Regions from separate parts of the Homo sapiens genome. Here region 1 is linked to region 2. The links are contacts of gene promoters, found by promoter capture Hi-C in blood cells and fetal thymus (Javierre and others, 2016). All regions are on one chromosome and are shown on one strand. The core of a region is centred on a gene start or on the middle of the fragment in contact, and the rest is flanking DNA. Distances in the headings are between cores, read along the strand shown. Region 1 holds the start of SGTB (small glutamine rich tetratricopeptide repeat co-chaperone beta). Region 2 holds the start of CHD1 (chromodomain helicase DNA binding protein 1).

Region 1 (6,038 bases), core at 1,690-4,189, about 33 Mb after region 2:
GGTCCACGGTAATTTTTGAAAGGTAAAGGGGTCCTGAGAATAAAAAGTTTGAGAATTGTTCTTTTTTTTTTTTTTTTTTTTTTGAGACGGAGTCTTGCTCTGTCGCCCAGGCTAGAGTACAGTGGTGCGATCTCGGCTCACTGCAAGCTTCGCCTCCCGGGTTCATGCCATTCTCCTGCCTCAGCCTCCCGAGTAGCTGGGACTACAGGCGCCCGCCACCACGCCCGGCTAATTTTTTGTATTTTTTAGTAGAGACGGGGTTTCACCGTGTTAGCCAGGATGGTCTCGATCTCCTGACCTCGTGATCCACCCGCCTCGGCCTCCCAAAGTGCTGGGATTACAGGCATGAGCCACAGCGCCCGGCCGAGAATTGCTCTTATATGAAGATTTATTCCCTCCTCTCACCCCTGCATTATGTGAAGTCTTCATTTCTTGGTATAACTTCATTTGACAGCTATATCGATTGCAGCCTGGAGACTAGCAAAAAACGACAGGCTGAAATATGGTCACCAATCACCACATTAACTCTTTGTAATTAACCACTGTCGCCTGCCTGCTCCCTAACTCTACGGACTGAGCAACACAAAGCTCCATCCACACAGACGAGTGGCAATGTGCAAAAGGGAACTGTAGAAAGCTTAAATGCTGACATGTTACAAAGTAGTTTTGTTGATAGCTAGCAAGAAGCACACATTTTCTTTATTCTGTTGAATCTTCATTTGGATTTACAGTTCTGGGCAGATTTGGAAACGGGGATGGTGGCGGCATTGTTTCCGAAAACCAGCGCATCCGTGCAAAGAATTTAATTCCCTCACCATCTTGCTACTGGTCTGTTGCAGTGGGGTGTGGTTAGAGGGCTAGGAAGCAATCCAAAACAGCAGCTCAGGCTGCCCAAAGCCGTGTCCAAGCGATCATTTTCTCCATTTTGGGCCAAGTCAATTTGCACCGGCAAGAGGCAGAATGTTTGTTTTATGGGGAGGAGGAAAATAAAAAAGGAAGTCAGAGAGCATGGACGGAAACAAGCAACACCACCAAAGAGGTTTCATCTCGGGTGGATGTTAAACGATTGGAATGCTAATAATGGGCGCGAGGAGCAAACACAATTGTTCTGAGTCCACAGCTGCGGCACTTTTAATGACAGGTCTGTAGTTCTGCATTGGGATTGAACGTGAAATGATTTTCTTATCCAAACTATTTGCATTCATTTTGGGCCGCGTCTGTGACCAGCCTCGCTGACTGCGGCTGAGGCAGTCCCAAACAAAGAGGAATGGACGTCCTCCCGAGGGAGCGGAGGCGGGAAAGGTGGCCCCAGGTGGCCGCGCCAGGTGTCCCCCAGGGGTCCACCTTGCAAGCCGCGGGGAGGGTGCGTCCCGGGAGCGTCGGAGAGGCGCGGTCGGGAAGGGGTGGGTCCGGGCTCCAGGCACCACACGGCGAAAGACCCCGCCCTGCCCACGGCCAAGGTTAACCCGCGCGCTGGAGGTACCTGCGGAGGCTTCGCACAGCCAAAAGGCACCGGGCGATCATGGGAGCGCTGAGAGGCTGGCGGCGGCGGGCGCGTGGTCCTTCGGCGTGGGGCGGCGAGGCGGGCGGCAGCGCCTGGGCGCCCGGGAGTCTCGAGCCGGCCTAGCCGCAGAGGCCACAGTGGCTGCCTGGCCAGCGCCCTCCCACGTGCGGCAGCTCCACGCCGGCGCCTACCAGCCCCGCCCCGCGCCGTGCCCCGCCCCAGCTCGCGTGTCTGGCCCCGCCCCAGCCCTCGCGTCCGGCCCCGCCCCAGGGGCGGTGCTGGCCAGACCCTGCCGCCTGAGAGAGAGCACAGCCTGGTGGGTTCTGGGGTCTACGGCCTAGGGGCCGGGGAAGTTTGCGCCGCCGCGACCAGTGCTGCGATCCCGAGCCGGGCTCCAGCCCCGAGGACCAGGGGTCGGGCGGGCCTGCCTACGGAACCCCGCGGGCCAGCAGCAGTCGTCTCGCGTCCTCCTGCTTGGTAAGGGGCTTCTGTCTGGCAAGGGTGCGCCTCCCGCCGCTCCGGACCGGGGCCCGCACCGGCACCCGCTGCACACCGGGCAGGGCCGAGGCGAGGCCGGGTACCTGAGGGAGGACGGAAGGGAGGGGGAGCTCGATGCGCTCTGGGGAGAGGAAGGGGGAGAAGCCTATTTCCCTCTTCTCACCCCTTTTCCCCCCATTCTGTTTTTACCTTCTGCCCTGGGGCCTTATTTAGTGCTTATGACCCCGTGGCCTAGAGGCTGACATCGCCTTTAAAATAACTACACAAATAATAAACATTATAGCGGCGGGTACCACACCCTGGCTTTGAATTAGGGAACCTGGGGAGCAGATGGATGATGCGATTTGGTGGAAATCAGCCATGAATGCCGCCTGGCCCTGCGCCACTGTTTGGATGCGATAGTATTCCATGTGAATGAACATGACCGGGAGCTTCCAGCTTGTCCACGAGAGCACAGCCTCTGCAGGGAGCGCCGGTCGGCTTGTAGTATCCATCGACTTGGGCAGCGATTTCCTGACATGTCTGCTGATTAAATAGAAATGCCATTTTTATTAAGAACGACACTCACCACTTGAATAACCTTTCGCGAATGTGTTTCCTCATCAAATAACTCTCAACCTACAAAAGTGGGTAGAGTGTACATTATTAATACTTTTTTTAGATCCCATGAAAAAGAGGAAGATGCTTGGTATACATCAGCTTTTAGTCAGCAGTATGAAATGCCTCTTAACTTAGTACTGAGGCCTTTAGGGGATTTCTGTATGGTGAGATATGCAGTGACAGTCTAAGCTTATGCTGTACATGTTTTGAAGACATTTTTACTTATTCCAAGATTTAACATACTCGTATACCACTGGGTATTAATGAAAATATGTAATAAATTACCTTCACAATACTTTGTGCTCTCCTGACTCTTTACAAAGAGAAAAGATGAAAGGTCATACAGTTTTGTGTTTTGTTTTTACCTTTAATACACTTTATAACCCATATCATCTTTGTAATTTATGACTTTCCTGACTGATTCTTTAAAATAACTTAGTTCAGTGTTTTCATTTTTCTTATCAAGGAAAAGTGTTTAAGCTTCTAAAATGTCATCTATCAAGCACCTGGTTTATGCAGTTATTCGTTTCTTACGGGAACAAAGTCAGATGGACACTTACACCTCGGATGAACAAGAAAGTTTGGAAGGTATGCATCTGCTCTTTGTGTTCATTTATATTATAATTATAAACGAAGACTAAAATAGCTGTAAGCCCAACTTGATGATCTATTGTAACATAATCAGAATTTTTTTTGATCTTTCAAGAGGAGAGGCCTGACTATAAGGTTATCGTATTTCCATTTTCTGAAGCTTGTTTTGTTTGTTTTAACAACAAATTAAGAGGACTATTGTTCATTTATTGAACAAATACTATATGTCAGAAGTATGCTGTTCATATTATAGGCAATTTTTTCTTCACAGCAACTGTTATGTTAGTATTATCCCCATTTAACAAGTGAGAAAATAAAACCAGGGCCAGGCTTGGTGGCTCATGCCTGTAATCCCAGCACTTTGGGAGGCCGAGGCAGGTAGGTCATTTGAGGTCAGGAGTTCAAGACCAGGCTGGGCAACATGGCAAAACCCTGTCTCTACTAAAAATACAAAAAGTAGCCAGGTGTGGTGGCACTTGCCTGTAGTCCCAGCTACTCAGGAGGCTGAGATAGGAGGGTGGCTTAAACCCAGGAGGTGGAGGTTGCAGTGAGCTGAGATCACACCACTGCACTCCAGCCTGGGCCATGAGCGAGACCCTATCTCAAAAAAAAAAAAAAAAAAAGAAAAAGAAAATGAAACCAAATAGCGTAAGCAGATAACACAGCTGATATGTGATAAAGCTGAGATTTAAATCCTGGTTAATACTCTGAAGATCTTGTTGTCTCCATTTCCTAATAGGAAAGCATCCAGTTTAGAAATAATATATAAAAATACCTGAGTCATTTTAATAGCACTATGTAAAAGTCTAATAATTATACCACTAGTGAGATCTGACCAGTGCCTAATTTGGAACTTGAAATGGGAGCATTTCACCTGTGTTTTACGTTAACTTTAATATTGGATTCGGTAATCTGTAAAGTTGAACAGGATGTGGGTGATAGCATCATGTGTTTCCTCGACACCGTCTTTGTTCTTCATGTTTATGTGTTATAAAATTTAAATTCAGTACAACCATAACAAGGTAGAATTCTGCAGATGGGCTTGTGGAGGTTCAGTGAATCTGGTGTCCCTGTGGCCTAAAGTCTTTTATTTATTTATTTATTTTTTGAGACAGGGTCTGTCTGGCTCTGTCACCCAGGCTGGAGTGTAGTGGCACAATCTCGGCTCACTGCAACCTCCACCTCCTGGGCTCAATTGATCCTCCCACCTCGGCCTCCTGAGTAGCTGGGACTACAGGAGTACACTACCACACCCGGCTAAGTTTTGTATTTTTTTTTGTAGAGACAGAGTTTCGCCATGTTGCCCAGGCTGTTCTCAAACTCCTGGGCTCAAGTGATCCACTCGCCTTGGCCTCCCAAAGTACTGAGATTACAGGCATGAGCCACCCCTCCCAGCCCCAAAGTCTTAATTATTGCAGTGAGAGTGCATTTGGAAGAACTTAATAAATGACAGTATAGTTATAAATCCCATCTTGAAACTGCTTCTATAATTTCAACAAGCATTTCCCTGTGAATATGCTTTTAGGAGGTGGAGATGAAAATTGGGCATTTGCTCTAAACCTCCTTGCAGTCTGGTTAGTTGATGTCTTTCCAGGTGGCAGTGAGAGGAGCAGGTGATGCACAGTTGGAGAACATTGCAATCAGTCCATTTAATATTAAGGTCTTTTTGTTCTCCTTGATGATTAGACTATGTGAAAATAAAGTTGATTGGTTATCTAAGGAGAATGTTAGTTATGATTGCTCTGTAGCAAACAGATAAATGCAGTCATTTAAGAAAAGATGTTTCTTTTCTAATCAAAAGCAGCATAAAAGTTTTAAGGGCCAGAAAGAAAATTGAGGGTTTTTTTTTCAAACCAAGATGTTATGTCCTATTTTTAGGATGGTATTCAGCCAAAAATATGTGCCTTCAGCTGTTTGTTATATATGGCAGTCAGAAAGGGTGCCAATTGTTTTTGACTGACCCCTATTTTTGACTCTGTGAGTCTAATTTAATTGAACATGAAATCATGTGGAGGTGTCTGCCCACCTTCTAGACATTTTTAAAAGCCCTAGGAAAGAAGCCTCAGTTCTAATACCAGCTTTACCACTACTGTGAAGCTGGTATATCATCAGCTTTGTCTTGCCATCAGATTATGTCACCCACTCCTCTTAATTATTGTCATCTACTGACATTTGCTTCATTCCTTGACTAATTGTGGTTCCTGCTCACTGTCACTCTCTCTAGCACTACTCCTATTTAGTTCTTGGCAATTGCAATATACTGATTGATGATTATTTTAGTTCCCTGGCTCTCAGTTATTGACCTCATCCAGTGATCTCAAACACTTGATCATATTCTAGATCAGTGGTTCTCAACTTGGGGGTGATTTTGCAATATCTGGATACATTCTGATTGTCACAACTGGGTGAGGCGGGTGGCTGGTATTATTGGCATCTAGTGAGTAGGTAGAGGCCATGGATGCTGCTAATGCACAGGACAGCCCCTGACAAGAAGAAATTACCTGATCCAAAATGTCAGTATGCGGAGATTGAGAAAGCCTTCCCTAGACTTAATCATTACCAGAATTGCATTCCTTCCCTAATCTCTATCCCAAACATTTCACTTCCTGACCACTATTGCCTGTCTTTCCAAGATTACTCCCTCTAGAATCCCTACTCCAGCTATTCTTTGACCCAACCAGTACCTCCAATCTGTTCATGCCTCACCTTTCCCCACACCTCTTCTTACTCATCTTAAATTCCATGGTTGATAATTATAATTATTCCCTTGTATCTCCTTCCCTTTCTTGCAAAGCCCAACTTTGTTTAAATCCAACTCTCCACCTACTTTGTGCCCAACTACTCA
Region 2 (5,395 bases), core at 1,193-3,692:
CAGCCTATCCCCACCTAAGGATACCCATTTAGTACTTTACCTAGTAAAGCATATCACAATTAAGGACCCACAAAATGCTGTCTTAGATTCCGGAAAAGTAATATTCTTTCCAAAGAATATGAAATTTTAAAAATGAGAAATTAAATAGTAACAAAAACCTCCTGGTTAATGTTAATTATGTGGAATTTTTCGTTAGTCATGTGTTGAGATTATCAACTGTTTGGCTATTGTTTTAGTACCACTAAGTAGAGATAAAGCTAGTTTATTCAAATAAAGTGACACTGCAAATTTAACTATGTTGATAACAAATCATCAAAAAGGTATCTTTGGATTACCTACACGCTTTTTAAAAAATGAACTGGCAAGATTGTTGCAATTTTCCACCTACTGTGTACTTCTGCAAAGCAATAAAGTATGATTTTACTCGAAATCTAAATCTCCAATGTTCAATATTTTATTACAAATTGGGCAAGATCTTTTTTCGAATAGCATGTTTGATGGCACAATACGACAGAATAGCATATTCAATGGCACAATTAGTAGTAAAAAAACAAAAAACCTGCCTGACGTGCTTCCGGAAAACGTAAAATAGACTGTATATACAGTAATTCTTTTCATAAGACAATGACAAAATGTCAGAGTTGTAATTGAGGACTTTATTAACTGAACTATACTTCTGATTACAACATTCTGTGTATGTTAATAGTTTCTCTGGAGAAATTACGGGCACAGGAAGTTCCTCTCATTAAGGATATTAACATAAAGCTTAATATGAAAAATTAGCACTCAGTTCAGAAATGACGACTTCAGAAATGACTTCAGAAATGACGATTTGTATGATCTTTTCATTCCTCACAACCCAGTATTAAAACTATCTAATATTGCAAAGGATGGTAGTGTTCCACTTCGTTTTGCTATTCAATTATTGCTGATAGATACATGTTTTCAAAAAGGCCATTGGCATCTGTTTGCTTTCTCCTACTTCTCCAAGTGAATACACCCTTCAATATGTAGTAAATACATATGTGGAGTTATGTTTTGAGATTTTTTTGAAGGATTTGAACCAAACTGTTTAAACAGCTGGTAGCCTAAAACTGGAATATTTCCCACAAGGGAAAAATAATTATTTGGGGAATGTATGTTACCACAAACTCATCTGACTTGGAAAGTGCGCCTTTACACCAAATCAAATAACTGAACAATGGGATTAGAAACTTTTAATTATTATTAACCTCGGCCACCGGGCGCCGTGGCTCACGCCTGTAATTCCAGCACTTTGGAAGGCAGTGGCAGGTGGATCGCTCGAGCTCAGGAGTTCAACACCAACCTAGCAACATGACAAAACCCCGCCTCTACAAACATAAATAAAAAACAAAAATCATTAACCTTGAGTGAGTCAAGTTCATCTGCAGACTGAAAAAAATAAAGTGTAACAGAATTTTGATTTAAAAAACGCTTTCAAAAAAGCATTTCAAAATGCTCTAAGTATGTTTCAAAAATACACTTAAAAATATGTTTCCAACACACTGAAGGGATTTAACTAAGATCCACAATTACAGTTACGATACAAACTGTAAGCTAAAAGGCAGCAACTTAAGCTGAGACAGTTACTAACATCCCTCGAGCAGCGTTTTTTGTTGCGATTCGGCGCCGCACCCGTCACCCCGCCCTCCGGGGAGGAACCTAGAAAGGAAGGGTGGTACATTTCTAAACCAGGCCACCCACACATGAATCAAGCGGCATCACAGGCTGTCAACAACCGGGTCTCTATTTTCTCTCCTCCTCCGGCGCCCCGCCCGTGCGGGACATCAGCTCCCAGGATGCGTCAATCGCAGATCGCCCAAGCGTAAGAGGTGGCGAGAGGCCACCACGGTTGCCCAACAGTTGCGTTCCCAGGCTGCCTGGTGTGACGCAGCAGCCCCCGCCCGGACCCTGAGGCCTGGCGCTCCGACTGAGCCGAGGCCTGTGCTACCCGACACTCCTTGCGACCCGGCCCCTTAGGCTTATTCAGCGCGGCCCTTCCCGGCTTCCCGAGTCCCATCGCAGTCTCTCCCCACCCCCGTTCCTCCCCGGTTCCTTGTCAGTGTCCGCCGCGATGTCCTTGCGCAACCATCCCAAGTGACATTAGCGCCCATACCCGCACGGAGCGAGCCTGAAGCTCCCACTTCCCGGAATTCAACGCCGGGCCGCTAAGGGCGGGCACCCAAGCGAGGATCAGCGGACTAAGGCCGCGACCAGAGTCCAGCGGTCTCCGCGCAGTCAGAGTCCGACAGCCTCTGCGCATCCGCCGTGCGCACTCCCATTCGTGCGCGTGCGCGCACTCGCCCCCCCCGCCCCGCCCCAGCACCAATCGCTTTTTTCCTACGCCCACGACCCTTCAACGTAGTCCCTCCCGCCTCCCGCGCGCGAGCAGAAAGGCTTCGGCGTGCGCGCGCCCGCCCGCCTCGCGCTCTGTCGGGAAGGGGAGTGAGCAGAGGCGCTTACGTCGCGCGGGAGGCGGAGGCGACGGCGACCTCGGTGGCGGCGGCGGCTACGACGGAGACGGTTGCGCTCGCTTGCTTTCTCGGCGTCATGGCGGCTGCCGGGGGCAGATAAGCGGAGGGAGCGGGAGCGCGCGCGCGACGGCGGCGGCGGCGGCGGCGACGACTGGTTACTTATAGCTCTTGCTGCCCTCGCCCTTGGTGCTTCAATAATGAATTGTTAGCTCCACTCCGCAGGGGATCGCGCGTTGGTGCTGCGGACCGGGGCTTCCCCTTCCCCTCCGCGTCTGTCCCCTTCCCCCTCCCCCGCACGGACTCTTGCTTACCCCGAGACGCCGGAGCCCTAGGACTGGGCGGCGGAGATCCCGGGCCTGGGCGCGGGGGAGGCCGTCCACCCGAGTCGGCTCCCTCCGCCCCGCCAAGCCCGCCGGTAAGAAAGGGGGCGGCGGGCGGGTCAGGATGTGGCGGAGAGGACAGGAACCGGCCGGGCGGAGGGCGGGCGCGGCGCGGTGCCCAGGCGGCGGCCCAGCGGCCGGGTGAAGGCCGGGTGGCTCTGTGAGTGCCGGTGGCGGTGTACGGGCCTGGCGCGCAGGGGGCGTGTGAGCGGCGAGTACAGGCCGGGGCCGCAGAACGCATCCTTGCGCCGGCCCGGCGGCCCTGCCCCGGCCTCTTCGGCTTGGTGCCGACCGGGCCGCGAGAGGAGACCCGCGAATGGCTAGCACTTAGCCGGTGCGTGGGTCCTGCCGCGACCCGGGCTCCCAGCACGTGGGGAGCGGCGGGAGGGGGAGGGGGCGGCGGCTCGGGCGAGCCTGGGAGGGCGCGGGGCGGGTCTGCGGGAAGTTTGAGGCGGGAAGAGGGACTCCTGGACCGGGATGGAGGCCCTGGGAGAGGGGGGCAGGTCCGCGAGGGAGGCTGATTGGAGCGCGCTGGATGGATGAGTGAGGATGGTTTCCAAACCTCTTTCGAGTGCCGCTTTAAAAACTTAGCAGGAGCAAAGCAACTGCTAAAAGACAGAGGATTGAAGAGGTTTAATAACTTAGGGTAGTCATTGTGGAGACGCTTGAGAGGACACAGCGCTGTGTGCGCTTGGAGCTTCAGAACTCAGGGTTGTGAAAAGGGTCTCAGAGGACTTATTCGGATAAGGGAGATGGAGGGGAAAGGAAGTTAAAATGTACAGAGAAAGCCATTTTGAGGGACGAAAGGAAGGTGAAAAGGAAAGAACGAAAAGGGGAGTGAACTTTTTAAAGGAAGAAACGGGAAAGGCAGTTTGTTAACATACTTAGATTTTTTAAGACTTAATTGTTCAGTAAGGCACTTTGACTAGGGTTGAGATTAATATTTAACATTAGGAATAAATGTTGAGTAGAACGGTTACTTTTTAGATAACCTGTTCTTGCAGAGTCTACTGGACAGTAGTCTAGAGAATTAACATCCTGATCCAGATGCAGACTTTGCTATCATTGAGTTGGTAACAATCTGTTTCCCTCCCTCTCTTGTGGAATGGAAATAATCGTAGGAGTGAATTCTCTTTGCTGAGGTCGGAGGACAGCTCTGCTCTCAGTTGGCTGTCTCGGTACTTTCTGGCTGGGGAAGGATCTGACGTCTCCTTCCCCCGCTTCTTCCTCTCCCTCCCCTGCCAGAGATCTCCTTTGTTTATTCGTGGATGGCTTGTAGGTGATTCTTCAGTGTTGTACTGAAATCTTTAAAGGTGGAAATGGTGTGTCTTGGTTCATTATTCTTGCCCCAAATTTTTTACGTAAAAAATCAGATATAGTGTATATTCTATTACCTTTTCAATTTTTTTCACAAAATAAAAACCAAGTGCAAACTGGTTAAGTATTATTTAAATGTTATCATCCCACTATCCGTTTACCTGTTAAATAACACATTTATTTTGAGCTATGCATTTTTGTTGAGAGTATATGGTATCTTTTATTTGCCTGTTCCTCCCATGGGAGCGTTTTCAGAACTTTCTCACTCAAGTGTATGAAGTTCTTGGTGATAGGAGTGAGGGCTTGATTAAAGGTAACCTCCTCCCACCCCCCCCCCCACTTCATTTATTCGACCAAGTTATCTAATAAGACTCCGTTATCTACTCTTGGGATGTATGCATATGTTACATCGTATCACCTTGCTTTAGGAGTCTATAAAAACATTGTTAGTTGCAGTTAGTCTCTAAAAATCCTTTCACTCCACAAATATTTTAATTTTTTCTGTCCGAAGTATATTAGCAGTAGCATACTAAATTCTAGTTAGCAGTCAGGAGTGTAGTTATTACAAGTCTAGATATTTTAAGTATTTAATAAAAGGCCCCCACTTCTTCCTTAACAGCTGTAGTCTAATTGGCCTACGTAGATTTATACGTTTTAGACAGGGCTTAATTTACCTTTTTTCTGCAGGAAATTTTGTTAATTTATTAATATATTTTCTTTAGGTGAATCAAAGGAGAGTCCCAGAAAACCTGTGACTGTTGAAGAAAATTCATCTGTGAATTTTTATATTCAAGGAGTCAGTATTTATATTCATCTTTTAAACTGGGAAGATTTATATTTTACTTTAAAACTTCTTGATAATAATTTACAATGAATGGACACAGTGATGAAGAAAGTGTTAGAAACAGTAGTGGAGAATCAAGGTAAGTAAGCACTTTGTTATCAATTGTTTACTATGAAGAGAGTTGAAAACTTGACTTTTTTCTTTATTGTTATTGTTGTTATTTAGTTTTCCTCATAGGTAGCAGAGTTTTCAGGTTTTCCTCTTAGCTATCCAAATACTAAAAAAATTCTGATATACGAACCTTTTTTCATAATACAGGTTTTAATTATATTTTTCATTCAGATACACAGTAGATCTTAAATATAGAAAGTTTTTGTTTACTTAAATCTATTTGGAAGTTTATATTTGAGCTAATAATT

The links. Contacts are between HindIII fragments. The CHiCAGO score rates a contact against its expected background, and 5 or more counts as called.
Region 1: a fragment that was not itself captured here is called in contact with the fragment with the promoter of CHD1 in region 2 in 1 of 17 cell types (non-activated CD4 T cells); the score reaches 5.2 in non-activated CD4 T cells.

Annotation. Positions count from the first base shown.
Region 1 is chr5:65,717,860-65,723,897 of GRCh38, reverse strand. It overlaps SGTB (small glutamine rich tetratricopeptide repeat co-chaperone beta), which reads left to right and starts at 1,789. Exons shown (of 11, transcript NM_019072.3): 1 at 1,789-1,981; 2 at 3,069-3,190. The coding sequence starts at 3,091. NLN (neurolysin) reads right to left here and starts at 1,693. Exons shown (of 13, transcript NM_020726.5): 1 at 1,484-1,693. The coding sequence starts at 1,524. RefSeq lists enhancers at 429-508, 281-1,102 and silencers at 1,379-1,988, 2,059-2,108, 2,169-2,218, 4,263-4,459. The HindIII fragment of the contact is 291 bases long and covers 2,794-3,084 here.
Region 2 is chr5:98,926,054-98,931,448 of GRCh38, reverse strand. CHD1 (chromodomain helicase DNA binding protein 1) reads left to right here and starts at 2,442. Exons shown (of 36, transcript NM_001270.4): 1 at 2,442-2,910; 2 at 4,915-5,115. The coding sequence starts at 5,063. CHD1-DT (CHD1 divergent transcript) reads right to left here and starts at 2,887. Exons shown (of 4, transcript NR_151718.1): 1 at 2,807-2,887. LOC100289230 (a long non-coding RNA gene) reads right to left here and starts at 2,315. Exons shown (of 1, transcript NR_036530.1): 1 at 440-2,315. RefSeq lists enhancers at 1,709-2,038, 1,527-2,425 and silencers at 2,199-2,408, 2,669-3,298. The HindIII fragment of the contact is 7,543 bases long and covers 768-5,395 here.